Linked DNA regions of Homo sapiens: regions 2, 3 and 4 are each linked to region 1. The links are contacts of gene promoters, found by promoter capture Hi-C in blood cells and fetal thymus (Javierre and others, 2016). All regions are on one chromosome and are shown on one strand. The core of a region is centred on a gene start or on the middle of the fragment in contact, and the rest is flanking DNA. Distances in the headings are between cores, read along the strand shown.

Region 1 (4,212 bases), core at 21-2,520:
GGTGAGGTCCACACGCGGCTCTCCTCCACCTGCAGTGACTCGGGGCGCCCAGAGCGCGCCTCCGGGATTCCTACATTCCACCTCCACCACCCGGCACCCAGGAGCGTATTTTGGCCAGCCTAGTAAGGGTCAAGCAGCATCTTGTTGTTTAATTGCCATTCTTCTAGTTAGAAATGAGTTTAAATATCTCTACATACGCGTTTCAGCCTTTTAGTCTCCTGTTTAAGTTAACGCAGAACACGCCCATACGAGTTCCCAAAAAAGCAAGAGAACGTTTGAAGGTCACCACAAGATCAAAACACTCCCCTCCCTCTCTCAGTAAAGACCTAACTTAGCAAAGCCAGGAGGACCCACTGATATGCGGATGAATGATTTTTCCAATTTACCGATTCCCTGATTTTCTTCTCTCCTCCGGCCCCTCGGATGATGCGAGAGAGGCGCCAAATACCGAGGCACCAAACGCGCGACATCCAAGGAAGCACCGTTTCCGCTCTCACAGGTGTCGACCCTGCACAGGGCAGGCCTTCAATGTAAACCTGTTGCATCGGGGACTCCGCTTCTCACAAAGGAGGGACGCTTGAAAATAGAGCCCCCAGGCCGGGCGCGGGGGCTCACGCCTGTAATCCCCGCACTTTGGGAGGCCGAGGCGGCTGGATCACTAGGTCAAGGAGACCATCTTGGCTAACACTGTGAAACCCCGTCTCTACTAAAAGTACAAAAAATTAGCCGGGCATGGTGGCGGGCGCCTGTGGTCCCAGCTACTCGGGAGTCTGAGGCAGGAGAATGGCGTGAACCTGGGAGGCGGAGCTTGCAGTGAGCCGAGATCGCGCCACTTCACTCCAGCCTGGGAGACAGAGCGAGACTCCGTCTCAAAAAAAAAAAAAAAAAAAAAGGAGAAGAAATAGAAAAGAAAATAGAGCTCTCAGCCCCCAGGAAGTTGAGGTCCCCTGGCGGGATGCTAGGGAGCCGACCCGCGAGGACCCTCTGGCGCCAGGAGCCCCCGCCCCAGCCCACCCCAGCCGCCCCCTACCTTCGGTCGTCAGCGCCCACAGCAGAATCAGGAGCGCCGCGCACGTGGAGGCGGCAGCCCTCCACGTCATCGCCGCGGCTGCTGTTGTGTAATTTTTTTCGCCGAGTGGGAGCAGGCGGCCCGGTAGAAACCAAGGGCAGGGGGAGACCTCTGTTGCGTAAAGAGTTGACGGAGACACAGCCGGGATTTCCAGCCGGCGCTTTTGCACATCCCACTTCTTCAGATCCCTTCGGCAACTGCGAAGTCGCCTGGATTTCCCAGGTTCGCACTGCAGGAAGCCAGGCGCGTGACCAGCCCCACCCGCGCCGCACTTTAGCCCGGGGGCGGGCACCGGCCGGGGAATCCTCCCTCGCCTCCGCCCGCGGCACGAGGTTGCGCGGTTACAGCCCCGGTGCCTCTCGCGAGCGGCTCTGCGGTCCAGGACTCGGGGCATCCTCTGGGTTCGCTTAGTAAATTGAGACCGGGATCCAAGTGGCCCGGGGCGCTGCTCTAAGGAAGATGCTGACCGCAGTCGGTGATTGCGAGAGCAGGTGCACGCGTCCAGAGCGACATCTTACCGTTGGCGCGATAAACTTACATTACTTTAAAAACCAAAAACAACAAAAATTTAGCATTAAGTCGAAAGGCAAATTAAATCCCCAGGACAATTCAGTTAAACGCCTGAAGGTGGCCCTTAATTTCCCATTTCTACTAATCAAGAAGTGGCTTGCGACCTCCTGAAGCAAACCCAAATATTCTCATTCGGTGATTAAGTTTTACCACCTCTACACCAGTTTTTAAATCAATTTAACCGCAAAGTTCAGAACCCAAGTGGCACAGTAAATGTGTGTGCATTTATAACGCAGAACCTGCATTCTTTCCCCAGCAACCTGCATTCCATTTGTCTCATTGACCCTACTGCATTTTTCCTTCGCATCATTAAAAAGGATGTAATGTACAGAAAAGCACAGACAGACCTAAACTCCAATGCCAACCATGCCATCTGCTGATTATAAGACAGTGGGTAAGTGACCTCATATCCCCAGCCTGTTCACATGTCTCTAAAACTGAGAGAGTAAAAGCTTCCTTTCCAGGGTTAGAGACACTGTCACTGACTAAGCAAATAGTCACATTCTCACTTATCTGCAGAACAGAGTGCATACAGAAAGAGCTCAGAAGTGAAAGATGCGCAGAGTGCCCACAGTGGCAGCAACTAGCTGAGGGGCCTTCAGATCGCAGCCTTCCGGACCACCGTTATAACAGGTAGAGATATGCAAGGTTAAGTCCAGCTATTGAATTTTTAAAACCTAAATTACACCTCTTCTCAACCTCTGCCTCCTCCAAGGAGCCTTACCTGAGGAGACATCCTTGTCTGGTATTAGTGACATCATTAAATAACATTCCCAATGGAGGTATATGACGACTTCTTATACATGCCCAGAATAGTGATTCACAAAGTTGTGACACATACACATCACCCTGTAGAAATTATCAAATTACTCTTTTGGTAATTTTTACTGTTTTGGTAATTTTTTTGTACCCTTTTTACTCTAAAGGGTAAAACCGGCAGGTTTCTCTATTTATATTTCATTAGAATGAAAAGTCATTACCTGTGTTTTCGTTTTTACCAATATCATGTCTATTTGAACATCTTTTTTTTTTTTTTTTTTTTTTTTTTTTTTTTGGTGAGACAGAGTCTCGTTCTGTTGCCCAGGCTGGAGTGCAGTGGCGTGATCTCAGCTCACTGCAACCTCTGCCTCCCAGGTTCAAGAGATTATTGTGCCTCAGCTTCATCCTCCCAAGTAGCTGGGATTGCAGGTGCCTGCCACCACACCCAGCTAATTTTTGTATTTTTAGTAGAGACAGAGTTTCACCATGTTGGCCAGGCTGGTCTTGAACTCCTGACCTCAAGTGATCCGCCCACCTCGGCCTCCCAAAGTGCTGGGATCACAGGCGTGAGCCACCACACCCGGCCTGAACATGTCTTTTAATACTTTTGCCAACTTTCCATTCAACCCTAAAGCACACAGCAGATACCTCACGATGCTTCTCAAACAAAATAAGCATATATTCTCAGGAATTATTTATGGAAAACTCTGACTTTCTGTGTTCTTTATTGGTGCACAGCATTGAGACACGGTATTCAAATGCTGGTTGACACTGAGGTCATTTTTATGACACATTGCATCCAACTTGCTGTTGGAATATCACATACAATTTTGGAACCATATTGTAACACATATTGAAAATATCCAACAAGTAATCAGAATGGTAAATAAGGGACATTCACTCAAAGACATGTATCCAGGGACAGTATGGCAGAGACTGCTATTTGTCAACCAATATCTGTTTTCCCCTTTTTCCTTGAAAAAGGCCTCCAATATTTTCCTGGGCACAGGGATCAATAAAAGACTGCATTTCCTAATCATTCTGGAACTAAATGTGGCCATATGACCAAGTTCTGGCCAAAGTAATATAAATGGAAATGTTCTGTGTGACTTCTGGGAAATGTCCTTAAAGAGAAGGAAATGATCTTCTTTTCCCCTTCCTTCTTTCTGACAGCAGGATAGCAGATGTAATGCCTAGAGCTTGAGGAGACATCTTGCACCACAGTGTGGAAACCATGCACTAGGACAAAGGGACAGCAAAAGAGAAGGGTTCTGGGTCCCTGATGACTCGTGAAACCTCTACCAGCTTTAGAAGGACACCTCTGGACCTGTGGAACATAAGAAATAAAGTCAGTAAGCTACTCTTATTTAAAATGTTCTCATTTTCAGCAGAACCTAATCCTAATCACTACAAATGAGTAAAGGAGCTGAGCCCATTTTGTTTGGAGTAGCCTGGGGGTTTAAGAAATGGTACCAGTCTTGTAAGTCTCTGAAAAGCTAACACCTGTGTATGTGAGTACACATGTTAGGTGATGTTCTTGAAGGCAAAAGCAAGTTGGAGAGAGATTTTGGCTCAGTATAAGAAAAGCTTTCTGCTGGGCGCGGTGGCTCACACCTGTAATCCCAGCACTTTGGGAGGCCGAGGCGGGTGGATCACCTGAGGTCAGGAGTTCGAGACCAGCCTGGCCAACATGGTGAAACCCTGTCTCTACTAAAAATACAAAACTTAGCCAGGTGTGGTGGCAGACGCCTGTAATCCCAGCTACTCGGGAGGCTGAAGCAGGAGAATCACTTGAACCCGGGAAGCGGAGGTTG
Region 2 (4,212 bases), core at 593-3,092, 620 kb after region 1:
TTTAATGAGCTAGCAACATGTCTTTTATTTCTTCACCAGAATTGTTGGCACCTGGATGGTAAATCTTCAAGTTACTGTGAAACAAGATCACAAACGAAAAAGTAACATAGGAAATACTAAAGACTGGGACATTTTATCAGATTTTACTCAGTTTCATATACAGAAGGCTATAGGTAAGGATGAAATTATACAGTGTAATAGAATGCATATATGCCACAGAAACTCAGTAATGCTCCTCTTTCTTGTATTGTAAAAACAAAGATACACTATCATGAGTGAAACAATGAAATACCTCCTTCAGAATTGGGACTGTTGCATCTGCATTTTTGTTTCTGGCGCAATGCCTGCCACACGGTAGTTAATAAATGTTTCTGAATTAATATAGGAAGGATGAAATTATATAGTACCAGAGTGGTATCTTATATGAGGCCTAGAAACTCAGCAATGTTCTTCTTTCTTGGGTAGTAAAGACAAGGAGAGGAGGCCCTGTCACTGAGAACTTTACATTTTTTTAAATTTTCCCAACATTTAGCATGTAGTGGGCAGTCACAGATGTTTGTCGAGTACGTGCTCTCAACCAGGGATAGTCATGATTGACCATAGTTAAAACTGAAGAGGAAATAAAGGCTTTGAAGATTATGCTGTGTACAAAAAATCTGCTGTTTCACTTGAGACTAAAAAAAAAAATTCCTAGGGCCTTAATTACAGTTACCATTTATTAAATACCCACCATGTACCATATACTTTGCTAGGTGCTTTTTATAGGTGATTTTTACAATTGACCTCAAAGTTTCACAATAATTTGCAAGAAGTAGGGAATTTTATAGGTAATTAAACTTAAGAAAAGTTAAATACTTGCTTAAAATAATGTAGCTAGTGAATGATTCAGTCCTTAAGTCTAATTCCAAAAGCCAGTGCACTTTCCACTGTGCCAATATAACCCAACATTAAATAAGATGCTTCATATATGTCAGGAAGTGTGCCAAGTTTGAGGAAAACCAGAGTGAATAATGCATAATCCTTTACTGCAAAGAGTTTACAGCTTGGCAGGAGAATGATTAAATGGCATCAGTAAATTACAAATAAAATGCTGTAGAACAGTTCATTTTGGCTGAGGGAAATTGGAAAATTATTTCCCAAAAGTTTTTGAGCTAGGCCTTGAAAAAACAGTTTGGGCAGGATGGGGCATATATTCAGTGATGGTTAGTGTCCAGTGTGCTGAAACCTGATAAGCCTAAAAGTATTGTATTCTGAGACAAAATTCTATAGGCTGATCAAAGCCGGGCTGTGAAAAGCCTTGAGTTTAACTCTCTCACTATATGGGTTCAGATTAAGATAATCTCTTCCATAGATCTGTGTGACCTGTTTTCTAATACTTCTCCATTTAAATTCATTTTATGCATTCTAGGCAGATTCAGCCTCTGAAAATGGAATGTAGAGATTCTACTGCTCAAAAACTTCTTGGAGCTCCCCATTTTATACAGAATTAAGTTGATAGAATTAAGCCTATAATTAAAATAAGAATTCAGTTCTTGAGGTCAGAATAAGGTCGATATTCTGATCTCAATAATCCATTCCAGTCTTATTTTCTACTATTATCTTTAACTTATCTTGATTAGCCCACCACAACAAAAATAAGTGCTATAATAAAGGTATTGAACAAAGATACTAGTCTTGTTGACTGTTCTAGACTCTCAGCTGCTTTTGGGTAGGATCTAAGCTTAGCACCATGACATATAAACTATCACTCAATAGATATTTGTTGTTTTAATATATGAATCGGTGAGGTTAGAGAGGAGCAAGTTTATGTGGTAGGATGACTTTGATTTTAGACATGTTAAAGTATTAGTAGGACACCAAGTGGAACTGTTAAAAATATGGGCTTCAAAGTTAGGAGAGAGCAATAAACTTAGAAATCACCCATCTAGAGGTGGTGGGTCAACAAGGAGAGTAACTAAGCTTACCTAGTGAGTGCCTAGAAGAGAGATACTTGGAAAAGAACAAGAAGGAGAAGATTTAAGGATAGAATGAGGAAGAAGAGCCTGAGGTTAGAAGGTAGACATAGAACTAGAAGAAGGAGAGGTTAGTGTCATTGAAGCAAAGGGAAAAAATGTGAAAAATGCATTATTCCACTGTGGTGGACTATGAGATGAAGCCCATTTAGAAGCTGATTTTAAAGGCATAATATAAATGCAACTCTAGGGTCTAACACAGAATCTTGAAAACAAGGTATAAATAAATACATATTTGTGGTTGATGATGGTTGATGATTGGGTAACTCCCATTCTGTCCATTGGGCAGGCAGATTTGTCAGAGTGCTACTGTGATTTAAAATGTGGCACTATAAATATTAACTTGATTATTTTACACATACCTAGGAACTTAAATGAAAAAGGAATGAAAAGGGAAATGAAAAATGTATTGCTTAAAATTGCTTCAATAAAATTGTTGTTGATGTATATCTTCTTTTTTTTTTTTTTTTTTTGAGACAAAGTCTCGCTCTGTCACCCAGGCTAGAGTGCAGTGGCACGATCTTGGGTCACTGCAGGCTCTGCCTTCCAGGTTCATGCCATTCTCCTGCCTCAGCCTCCTGAGTAGCTGGGACTACAGGTGCCTGCCACCATGCCCGGCTAATTTTTTTGTATTTTTAGTAGAGATGGGGTTTCACCGTATTATCCAGGATGGTCTCGCTCTCCTGACCCTGTGATCCACCCGCCTCGGCCTCCCAAAGTGCTGGGATTACAGACGTGAGCCACCGTGCCTGGCCCTTTTTTTTTTTTTTTTTTTTATACTTTAAGTTCTGGGATACATGTGCAGAACATGAAGGTTTGTTACATAGGTATATACGTGCCATGATGGTTTGCTGCACCCATCAACCCATCATCTGCATTAGGTATTTCTCATAATGCTATCCCTCCCCTAGCCCCCCACCCCCAACAGGCCCCGGTATGTGATATTCCCCTCCCTGTGTCCATGTGTTCTCATTGTTCAACTGCCGCTTATGAGTGGGAACATGTCGTGTTTGGTTTTTCTATTCTTGTGATGGTTTGCTGAGACTCATGGTTTCCAGCTTTATCCATGTCCCTGCAAAGGACCTGAACTCATCCTTTTTTATGACTGCATAGTATTCCATGGTGTATATGTGCCACATTTTCTTTATCCAGTCTATCATTGATGGGTATTTGGGTTGGTTCCAAGTCTTTGCTATTGTGAACAGTGCTCCAATAAACATACATGTGCATCTGTCTTTAAAGTACAATGATTTATAATCCTTTGGGTGTATACCCAGTAATGGGATTTCTGGGCCAAATGGCATTTCTTGTTCTAGATCCTTGAGGAATTGTCACACTGTCTTCCACAATGGTTGAACTAATTCACATTCTCACCAACAGTGTAAAAGCGTTCCTATTTCTCCACATTCTATCCAGCATCTGTTGTTTCTTGACTTTTTAATGATTGCCCTTCTAACTGGTGTGAGATGATTGTAGTTTTGATTTGCATTTCTCTAATGACTAGTGATGGTGAGCTTTTTCTCATGTTTGTTGGCTGCATAAGTGTCTTCTTTTGAGAAGTGTCTGTTCATATCCTTCACCCACTTTTTGATGGGGTTGTTTTTTTCTTGTAAATTTGTTTTAAGTTCTGTGCAGATTCTGGATATTAGCACTTTGTCAGATGGATAGATTGCAAAAATTTTTCTCCCATTCTGTAGGTTGCCTGTTCACTGCAATGATAGTTTCTTTTGCTGTGCAGAAGCTCTTTAGTTTAATTAGATCCTATTTGTCAGTTTTGGCTTTTGTTGCCATTGTTTTTGGTGTTTTAGTCATTAAGTCTTTGCCTGTGCTTATGTTCTGTATGGTATTGCCTAGGTTTTCATCTAGGGTTTTTATGGTTTTAGGTCTTACATGTAAGTCTTTAATCCACCTTGAGTTAATTTTTGTATAAAGTGTAAGGAAGGGGTCCAGTTTCAGTTTTCTGCATGTGGCTAGCCAGTTTTCCCAAAGCCATTTAGTAAATAAGGAATCCTTTCCCCGTTGCTTGTTTGTGTCAGGTTCGTCAAAGATCAGATAGTTGTAGATGTGTGATATTATTTCAGAAGCCTCTGTTCTGTTCTGTTGGTCTATATGTCTGTTTTGGTACCAGTACCATGCTGTTTTGGTTACTGTAGCCTTGTAGCTTAGTTTGAAGTGAGGTATTGTGATGCCTCCAGCTTTG
Region 3 (4,667 bases), core at 2,083-4,582, 550 kb after region 1:
CGTGGATATAATATTTCTTAGCAGCCTCGGCTGTCTGGAGCAGAGCTACATTCAGAAGCTTAACGGTCCTCTGAGCTGTAGAAACAGCTCTCATCAAGCCCATGCTCTAAAGCCTGTGACCTTTCGTCCATAGGAGACAGAGTCAGCTCACATTACTTTGATACATTCATGAACTCACTGAGCAAACATTGCCCGAATTTCTTCAATATGCTAGGCCCTGGCTGGGCTTTGAGGATACAGAGGAAAGGCATCCATCTCCACAGTCACCCCTAATTAGGTTACTCTCTAGTGAGGAGAGACAAATGAGCAAACGGAACATTGTACTCTAATGTGCTGGGTGCTGTAGTAGCAGCAGATGCAACGTGTGGAAAGAGCACCCTGAAGGGCATCACCCCCAGTTAAAGGGAGAGAAGAGATGTAAGTACCTCGTGTCAGTCGAGCTTATAGTCCTTTGAATTCCTAACCTACAACACCTAGTAAGCAGCAGTTTTTTTTGTTTTTGTTTTTGTTTTTTTTTTTTTTTTTTGACATGGAGTCTCGCTCTGTCACCCAGGCTGGAGTGCAGTGGCGCAATCTCAACTCACTGCAACCTCTGCCTCCCAGGTTCAAGAGATTCTCCTGCCTCAACCTCCCGAGTAGCTGGGACTACAGGTGCGCGGCACTGTGCCTGGCTAATTTTTGTATTTTTAGTAGAGATGGGGTTTCACCATGTTGGCCAGACTGATCTTGAACTCCTGACCTCATAATTCACCCGCCTTGGCCTCCCAAAGTGCTGGGATTACAGGTGTGAGCCACCGTGCCTGGCAAGATAAGCAGCACTTTAAAAAGGGACAAGAGAAATCTACTTCTTAGAAAAAGAGGTAGTACTAATATCCTGAGAGAGAGAAAAAAAAGGTTGAATGTATATTCAGTATTCCATGAAGGCAGCAAAGGGCATACTTTTAGAAAGCTTTCCATCAAAAAGTATAATTTAGAGGATTCAGCTTCTTCTCAAAATGTCCTTTTTATATAAAATATCTCATTCTTTTCCTGATGGTGCTGGATAAATGAGGCATTGCTCAATTAGATTTTCTGGCTTGTTATTTAAGTATCAAAAAGACATCCTCTGTAAAAAGCTTCAGTGAAATAAGGGGAAGAGTTTTGCTGGGGGAAAGAATCCCCAGAGTGTATCTCCATTTGAAAATGATTTCTACCTAGAAAATGAGCCCCAAAGGTCAGCCGGTTTGGAGAATAGACAACCTCCTTGTTCTTGGCTTTGATGAAAGGACGATGGCATAGAGCGAAGACTTCACTGCTTTCACCTGCTTTTTCTCCTGGGTTCCCCTGAGTTTAAAACCCACATTCTGCCTGAGAAGTTCAGCTGTTTGTGATTCACCAGGATTAACTTCATGCCCACCTCCCCACACCTCCCTGCACCGCCCCCCCCGCATTGCAGGAGACAGCACAGTCTGTTTGTTTGTGGATTGTTGCAGTCTTGTGTTCTGCAACTGTGTGTATACGTGTATGTACACATAATCTGACAGTCTGAAGAGCAGAATTTGGCTGGAGTTCTATTTTTTCCGGGAACTCAACAACACTGACCTACATGTGTTTCCCTTTGACCTACATGCAATGCAATTCAATAAGCATTTGCTGAGTTTGTGCCAGGTCTTCTGTTCAGGGCTGACTTTACCAAGATAAAACAATGGTTCCGTCCTCTTCTGTGTGACCAAAGGGATCGTGGGAATGGGTGGGGCATGTGTGTAGCCCAGAATCAGTCCTCACTCCAAGGCAGGGAGAGGTCCTCTCCCTTGACCTTTGGATTTGCTCATGACAGTTTGCAGGGAGAGGTAGCATAGGACAGTTGGGCACATGAAGGGCTTGAGCACTGAGTGGAATGTTTGCCAATTTATTTCCACCCCCAATCCACACTGACAAACTTCCTGGACCTTACAGATAGAATGGGGAGAAATCTACACCTCTCTCTCCAGCAGCTATCGGTCCACATTGGGACCTCTCTGCATAGCACACACACACCACCTGTCTCTGCCACTGTTAGCTCCACCCTCCATTTTCCTGGTCAGATCTGCAAAATAGAGCTCAGTGAGGTGGTTTCCCCTACATTAGGCAAAATAGACTTGGTTCTCCCTGGCCTTATCTTGGCCATGGGAGGGTGCATCTGTGAAAGTCACTCCCCTCAGCCCCTGCATGACTTTTGGCAAGAAAGAAATTGGGGGAAATGGAAAAATGGGATAAGTAAGATTTAGATTCTCAGGAGTCAGTGAGAGACAGGCAGCATATTGCCTACTTTGAGTCAAGTGAGGGATGGGAAATGTAAAATCCCATTGGCCCGCAAGTTTGGGTGACTTTTGTATATTGCTTTATGGTTTCCTTTCTTGTAACTTACACAAGTACAGCCTAGCCTCAGTTATTCAGGGAACAATTAAAAACCCTTGCTGGGAACTAGCCAGGTTCCTTTTTACCTTGGCCAGGTCTTCTTCCCAAATGGTAAAGGGTAAGGAAGGCTGGCCTTACCCACGGGGAAGTGGGCTGCTCAGAGACTTCATTAAACTAAGGCTTGACAATGGTCAAGGGATTTGTTTGTTCCTCTGGGTCTGCCCATCTCACCACCCTGGGCAGGGGGTGATGGGCTTCGTAACTTGTGTTTGTTCCCACGTTCAGTAGTACACCTCTGTCTTATCGGTGGCAAATCTTCCAAGATTCATGCTGATTTTTCACATTCATTTTAGGCAAATATATACTTTTAAAATTGATGATCCTTTAACTTGAACATCTACATTTTCTTTAACTCAAAGGACTTACCAGCATTACTAGAATCATCAAAAGGTTTTGGTTTTTTCCTAAAATGAAATAGGCATAGAAATAGCGAAGTATGGCCCAAGTTTTTGTCCCTCTCATACTATGACCCTACCTGCCACTGCCAAGGACTTCCACACCATCCATTATAGGATGAATTTTCTTTCCTGAGTTCTGATCTCAAACACCATGGTTAAATCTCTTTTAAATTGTTCGCCTCCCAGATGACAGGCCGGGACCTTCTCAAGGATCGAAGTCTGAAGCCTGTGAAGATCGCTGAGAGCGACACTGACGTGAGTGAGCAGAGTGACACGCTGACCCCTCAGCTGCCTCCTGACCCAGACCCCGGGTGAACAGCTTCAGGCAGGGCTTGGATGGTTCTGTAGCCAAAGGCTGTCTGATTGCAATCCCAAGGTCATGTCCTTTTCTCATCACCCCAGGCCCTCTCCACCTGTTCTTGCTTTTAGGTCAAACTGAGCATCTTCTGTGAACAAGACAGGGTCCTCCAGGACTTGGAAGACAAGATACGAGCCCTTAAAGAGAACAAAGTACGTGTCAGTTTTGAATAATCTTGGAATGGGCAGAGGGACATTTTGTCCTGTCTTTCTTGAGACATAGGCTGGACCCTCATGTTAGTATTGAAGAGCAGATGTTAGCTTATTTAAAAAAAAATGCACCAGGTGCGGTGGCTCATGCCTGTAATCTCAGCACTTTGGAAGGCCAAGGCAGGTGGATCATGAGGTCAGGAGTTCGAGACCAGCCTGACCAACATGGTGAAACCCTGTCTCCACTAAAAATACAAAAATTAGCTGGGCATGGTGGTGGGCACCTGTAATCCCAGCTACTCAGGAGGCTGAGGCAGAAGAATTGCTTGAACCCGGGAGGCAGAGGTTGCAGTGAGCCGAGATCACGCCACTGTATTCCAGCCTAGGCAACAGAGGAAGACTTCGTCTCAGGAGGAAAAAAAAAAAAGCCTTTGTGTTTAAATGGTGTTTCTTAGGGGTTTCTATCTTATAGAGACCCTCCTGCCCCCATTCTGCTTTGGCTTACCTCTCCGTGGAGGCCCTGTGAGGTGAGCCTGGGAGAGGAGCTCCACTGGCTTATATGTGATGACCCCAGGTCCCTGAACCCCAGGGAAGCAGGGTTCCTTTGGAGGAAGTGGCTGTAGTCATTACAGGGCAGAGGCCTTTGCTTCCTAAAGCTCCTTGTCTCCTAGGATCTGGGCTATGGAGGCAGCAAGTCTGGATGGGAGTGCCGGAATGGGCCAGGGGCCACCAACATTTGGCCTTTTCTATTCTTAAAGTATTTTTTTCCTTTTGCATTTTAAATTCGTGATGCTGGAGGTTGACAATATACTCTTTTCCCTAGGAGGCTAAAGAGGTTTTTGTTTTTTGTTTTTTTAATTCTTTGATTTATCCTCTTAGCTTAGTTTATTCTCTTAGTTTATCCCATAAGGAGTTAGACAGCTGTATCCCTAGTTTATAGATGACAAAATTGAGGCACAGAGCTGTTAGGTACTTTCCCCAGCCTACTCCCTAGACAGAGTCAGAGCTGGCATCAGAGCCCCGACTGTGGGCCCACATCTCAGCGCTGATCCCTTCGGCCTTGGTTAGGTCCAGTAGCTTTGGTTCCTGGTGTGGTATGGGGAGGCCTCTGGGGACTGTCCTCCTATCCTGCTGTTTTTTGGCCCTTCGTGGTGCAGGACCAGCTAGAATCTGTGCTGGAGGTGTTGCACAGACAGATGGAGCAGTACCGAGACCAGCCCCAGCACTTGGAGAAGATTGCCTACCAGCAGAAGTTGCTGCAGGAGGACCTTGTCCATATCCGAGCTGAGCTCTCCAGAGAGTCCACTGTGCGTAGAGGGTGGCAGA
Region 4 (4,314 bases), core at 386-2,885, 570 kb after region 1:
AGATGAGCGCTCCCAGCCCTAACATGCTGCGGCCAGTTCCCAGGGCCTTTCTTCCTCCCTACTCAGGGATGATCTTTGCTGCGGCCTTTCCTCACTCTTGATGCCTCTCTCCATCTCAGAAACATATCCAGGAACTGCAGCCTGACCCATCCGGTTCCCCACCAGGCCCCGTGGATCTGTCCCTCACCCTCAAGCCCAGGCCCTTCGTGGTGGGCAGCAGGGCCCATGCCACCCCAGCCTGCCAAATGGGGCATCTGGTGCTGCAGGAGCTGATGAGGAGTCTAACACACCGCTTAATTCCTGTGTGCCCCATCTAGCACAGCAGCTGGCCCTCCTCCCGCCTAAAGGCCCCCTGTCTTCCAGGACGGTGCCACCTTACCCCCCTTTTACCAACGGACTCCACTACACCTTTGTCTAACACCTTCCAAGTAAGAGCCCCTGTCTGGTGTGCTTCTGCCTGCTTCCTGCACCTCCCTAGCGCTGAGCCCCTCACCTCCCTGCTGTGCTGAGGTGATTGCAGTGCCACCTGCTGATGCCTCCTTCCACTGGCAAAGCGGCCGCTGGCGGGACTGTTCTGACTGGTAGGCAGGTGGGAAAGTGATGCTTTTTAGGAACTCAATCCTCAGTGGCTCTAATACGATAGGGACTGAGCAATCCACCCTGCTGCCTCCATGAAATCTCTAGAACCGGAACTGTGCCCCCATCCCCTGCTCTCCTCAGTAGGGCACCCTGATGCCCGAGAACCAGTGCAGACCACACTGCCAGCCTTGGGGGGCTGGAAAGGAAGAGTTAGATCTTGGCCTTTCAGGGCTTTGGCCAAAGAAATTGAAGAACTGTAAGATTGGGAAAAGTCCAGTTCTACAGATGAGGAAACTGAGGCCCAGTGAGGGGCTGGGGCTCACTCCAGGTCACAAAGAATTGGTGTCAGCGCAGAGACTGGGACTGCCCTTTTGGTCACTGGGCACTTTAAGAGGGAGAGAAAGGGAAGCCCAGGGCAATGTGAAATTGGCCCTCAGCCAGGCAGAAAGCTCTGGCACCAACCCTACCAAGTTCTCCCCATGTGGGCATCTAGTGATGAGAGGCAGTGTGGGATGAGGAGGGAGCCCTGAAACAGGAGGCTGGCATCTGGTCCAGTCTCAAGTGAGTTCTTGGCCTGGGCCTGTTGCTTTTGAGCCCAGCGGTTCACCTGGACAGGGGAAGGTCAGACTACCAGTCTGGGCAGTCCTTACCCTGACATCCCATCCCACTATCATTTTGCAGGGCTTTCCCCTCTCCTTCCTTTACGTATACTTGTGGTTAACATTGTTGAGTGCCTGCTGTGTGCCAGGCATTGTGCTAAGTATCTCTTTCGATCCACACAACAACCCTATGAAGATATTCCCCCCCCCCTCCCCGTTTTAGAGATGAAAAAACAAAAGCTCAGAGGCCTTGAGGGATATGCGCAAGGAATCGCAGCTTGTTAAGTGCTGGGGTTTGAACCCCTTTGATGTGAGTTCAGAGCCTTTGTTCCCCATCACCACTCATGGGTTCATCTGGGCCGCCCCGAGCAGCTCTAGGTGTTTGGAGAAAGAAGTGAAAGGAGGGAGAGAGTATTTGTGCTGCAGGGAGCGAAGCATGATTTTTTGGCAGGTGTCTATCCTGGGTGCTCCCCGTGCCTCACAGCAGAGTCAGCAGGTCCCCGCCAGCCTGAGCATGAGAGGAAGAGGTCAGCCTCCTTGGGCCAGGCTCTGAGGAGGTGTGGAGTAGAGGCCCCGTGGTTGAGGAGCCATAGGGAAGTGCTCTAGCCACGCCCATTGTGAAGGCCACATTTGAGGGTGTGGCTTTCTCCTAGAGATCTGAGCACAGTAACAGCGCTCAGTCACAGAGAGGCAGGAGAGAGGTTCTGTTCCTCCTGGGTTTTGGTGCCCCCATGGCTGTAAGATTGGCCTATTATACTCTTTGGAGTACTGCATTTCTTCTTACTCTCAAAGCATCCTTGTTAAGAAGTGGGTATGACCACCATGTTTTTTAGGTTAGAAAAACAAGGCCCACAGAGGCCAAGAGCGCTACCCACATTGAAAGAATGAAGGGCAGGGCCAGACTGCACCTTTATTAGAGTCTTTGCCCTGTCGGGATGGGGACCCAATTTAGGGGCCAGCATGTGTCTAGCAGTGGAATAGGGGTGCAGGGAGGGTGGGGCAAGAGCCCCATGTGTCCTGGAAGCTGAGGGTCCCCCAGCAGCGGCCGCATTGCCAGAGCCCCCTGCTCTGCTGCTCTGCCTGTCCGCCTATCTGCCATTCCATCATGTGTGTGCAGACGTGCCTGCTCCCTGGATGCCAGCCTCTCACTGTCTCCTGTGCTTTTTGCCAGCCCAGGCAGTGACTGACCCGTGACCCAGCATGCAAAGAAGCCTGGAGCCAGGGGCCCAGTGGAACCAGCTTCCTCCAAGGAGATGACCTTTCTGCCCCCAAGGAAACCCCTTCCAGCTGAGCAGGGAATCCGGCCGGAGGAAGGAGCAGCTTACCGACTGCGGGTGTTCACCACAGGCCAGGCCCTAATATGCACCCACTAGTTTAGCTCAGACTCCTCTCTACATATGAATGGCAAAGGCACTTTTGATATACACTGTAAAATACACTGTATTTTAGAATCGGAATCTATTTTCTAATGTTCCCCTCAAGGGCTGAGTGGCAGGAAGGTTGAGGATGCAGGACTTTGCAGCTGCACGTACAGATTCAGGTACTTCTGGGTGACAGGTGTTGTGGGGGCAGGAAGGGCGGGGCAAGCCGAGGCTAGTCCAACTTCCAATGACCTCAGGAGAAAGTGAGATTTAAAGAGGTGTTCCCAGTAGACTCCAGCAAGAGGCTGGTTGGCGTGCTGTCTGGGAGAAGAGGGGCCCTTGGCTGCAGAGATCAGCTGTCCCTGACCTGATGACCAGCTCTGTGTGAAACTCCACGAGGATCACACGTGGAGCCCAAGTCTGTGCCTTGCCCCTTGGGTTTGGCTTAGGGGCAACAGTGTGTTCAAGAGGACTGGGGCCCACAACCTGCCCCCAGGCTTCCTCCAGCAAAAGGCTCTTGTCAGAAAGAAAAAAGCAGTTTGCTATCTTTTTTTTTTTTTGAGATGGAGTTTCACTCTTGTTGCCCAGGCTGGAGTGCAATGGCACGATCTCGGTTCACTGCAACCTCTGCCTCCTGGGTTCAAGTGATTCTCCTGCCTCAGCCTCCCAAGTAGCTAGGATTACAGGCATGTGCCACCACGCCCGGCTAATTTTGTATTTTTAGTAGAGACGGGGGTTTCTTCATGTTGGTGAGGTTGGTCTCGAACTCCTGACCTCAGGTGATTCATCCGCTTCAGCATCCCAAAGTGTTGGGATTACAGCCGTGAGCCACCACGCCCAGCCTGCTTTCATTTTTAACAGTACACATTGAAATACAGAAAAGGTGAGAGGAAGCAACTTTCATTGTATCGTAGCAATAAACTCCACACTGGGTGACATCTACCTAGAAATCCCTTCCCTCTAACCAGGCCATGATGGGAACCTTTGCTGCCTGCCCTTGGAGAACCCCGGATTGGCTTCCCTGGGACTCAGGTCTGGTGGCAGGAGGGCAGCAGTGTGCCCCCACCATCCCTCATGGCCTGCCGCCAGCAGGGCCATAATGGCAGGACTTTGATTTGACTTCCAGCCCCACATGAGGAGGGGGGCTACCAAGCCAGGTGCAGTGTTTGTGGCCCTTTATTTAAGTTGTTTTCTTATATTATTCTGCATATAAACAATGACGTTTAAATGGAAAAAACAACAACAACGAAAACCTCCATTGGGTGGAGCCACACTTTAAATGAAAATTTCTCTTTGACTATGCTCAGAAAAAAAAATAGAATTTTGAATATATCTAGCAGTTGTTGTCTATTTTTAACTAACTCCATATGCTGCCAGTATCGACTTCATGACATTTGCCAAAATAAAATTTTATTTTTGCCTTTATAAGATTTTCTTGGAAAAAATGAAATGAATATTTTGCAAGAAAAAGTTAATTTAAAAATGTAATGGTTTGCAAAAAAAATGTGATGTACAGATTAAAATATTAACCTGATACGTTTCCTGTTTCTTGCTGGCTATAGTCTCTGGTGAGTGGCCTGTGTACGTTTGTTTCCATTTCTTTGGAAAATCCCCACTGTCAGCTCTCGGCCCTGCTTCTATTTACCTATGAAAAGTTTCTTCTGGTGACGATTCCTTGACATTTGATTGACTGTAGAGGCCTGGATTGAGGAGGCCTGTGCTTCTGGGCCCCTGGCTAGGCTTCCACAGTTGCTCAAGGCAACCCCCTACCCCAT

Evidence for each region. The method cuts DNA at HindIII sites, captures the fragments that hold promoters and counts their contacts. A CHiCAGO score of 5 or more calls a contact.
Region 2: a contact is called between a fragment that was not itself captured here and the fragment with the promoter of NCR3LG1 in region 1, in 2 of 17 cell types (naive CD8 T cells and naive CD4 T cells). The highest score is 7.3, in naive CD8 T cells.
Region 3: a fragment that was not itself captured here is called in contact with the fragment with the promoter of NCR3LG1 in region 1 in 1 of 17 cell types (monocytes); the score reaches 6.7 in monocytes.
Region 4: a contact is called between a fragment that was not itself captured here and the fragment with the promoter of NCR3LG1 in region 1, in 1 of 17 cell types (monocytes). The highest score is 5.6, in monocytes.

What each region holds. Positions count from the first base shown.
Region 1 is chr11:17,348,858-17,353,069 of GRCh38, reverse strand. NCR3LG1 (natural killer cell cytotoxicity receptor 3 ligand 1) reads right to left here and starts at 1,270. Exons shown (of 5, transcript NM_001202439.3): 1 at 1,031-1,270. The coding sequence starts at 1,100. It overlaps LOC105376576 (a long non-coding RNA gene), which reads left to right and starts at 1,204. Exons shown (of 3, transcript XR_931094.3): 1 at 1,204-1,291; 2 at 1,896-2,033; 3 at 2,159-2,257. It also overlaps a transcript of NUCB2 not described here. RefSeq lists enhancers at 129-730, 731-1,332 and a silencer at 1,329-1,448. The HindIII fragment of the contact is 2,891 bases long and covers 1-2,093 here.
Region 2 is chr11:16,732,300-16,736,511 of GRCh38, reverse strand. It overlaps a transcript of SOX6 not described here. Among named protein-coding and RNA genes, the nearest start is that of C11orf58, 4.2 kb to the left of the region's middle. The HindIII fragment of the contact is 239 bases long and covers 1,723-1,961 here.
Region 3 is chr11:16,801,649-16,806,315 of GRCh38, reverse strand. It overlaps PLEKHA7 (pleckstrin homology domain containing A7), which reads left to right. Exons shown (of 27, transcript NM_001329630.2): 14 at 3,021-3,089; 15 at 3,264-3,344; 16 at 4,499-4,648. Among named protein-coding and RNA genes, the nearest start is that of C11orf58, 65 kb to the right of the region's middle. RefSeq lists an enhancer at 2,967-4,166. The HindIII fragment of the contact is 4,430 bases long and covers 1,118-4,667 here.
Region 4 is chr11:16,777,056-16,781,369 of GRCh38, reverse strand. It overlaps PLEKHA7 (pleckstrin homology domain containing A7), which reads left to right. Exons shown (of 27, transcript NM_001329630.2): 27 at 2,350-4,073. The coding sequence ends at 2,372. Among named protein-coding and RNA genes, the nearest start is that of C11orf58, 41 kb to the right of the region's middle. RefSeq lists enhancers at 1-83, 84-778, 1,174-1,896, 1,897-2,620. The HindIII fragment of the contact is 9,770 bases long and covers 1-4,314 here.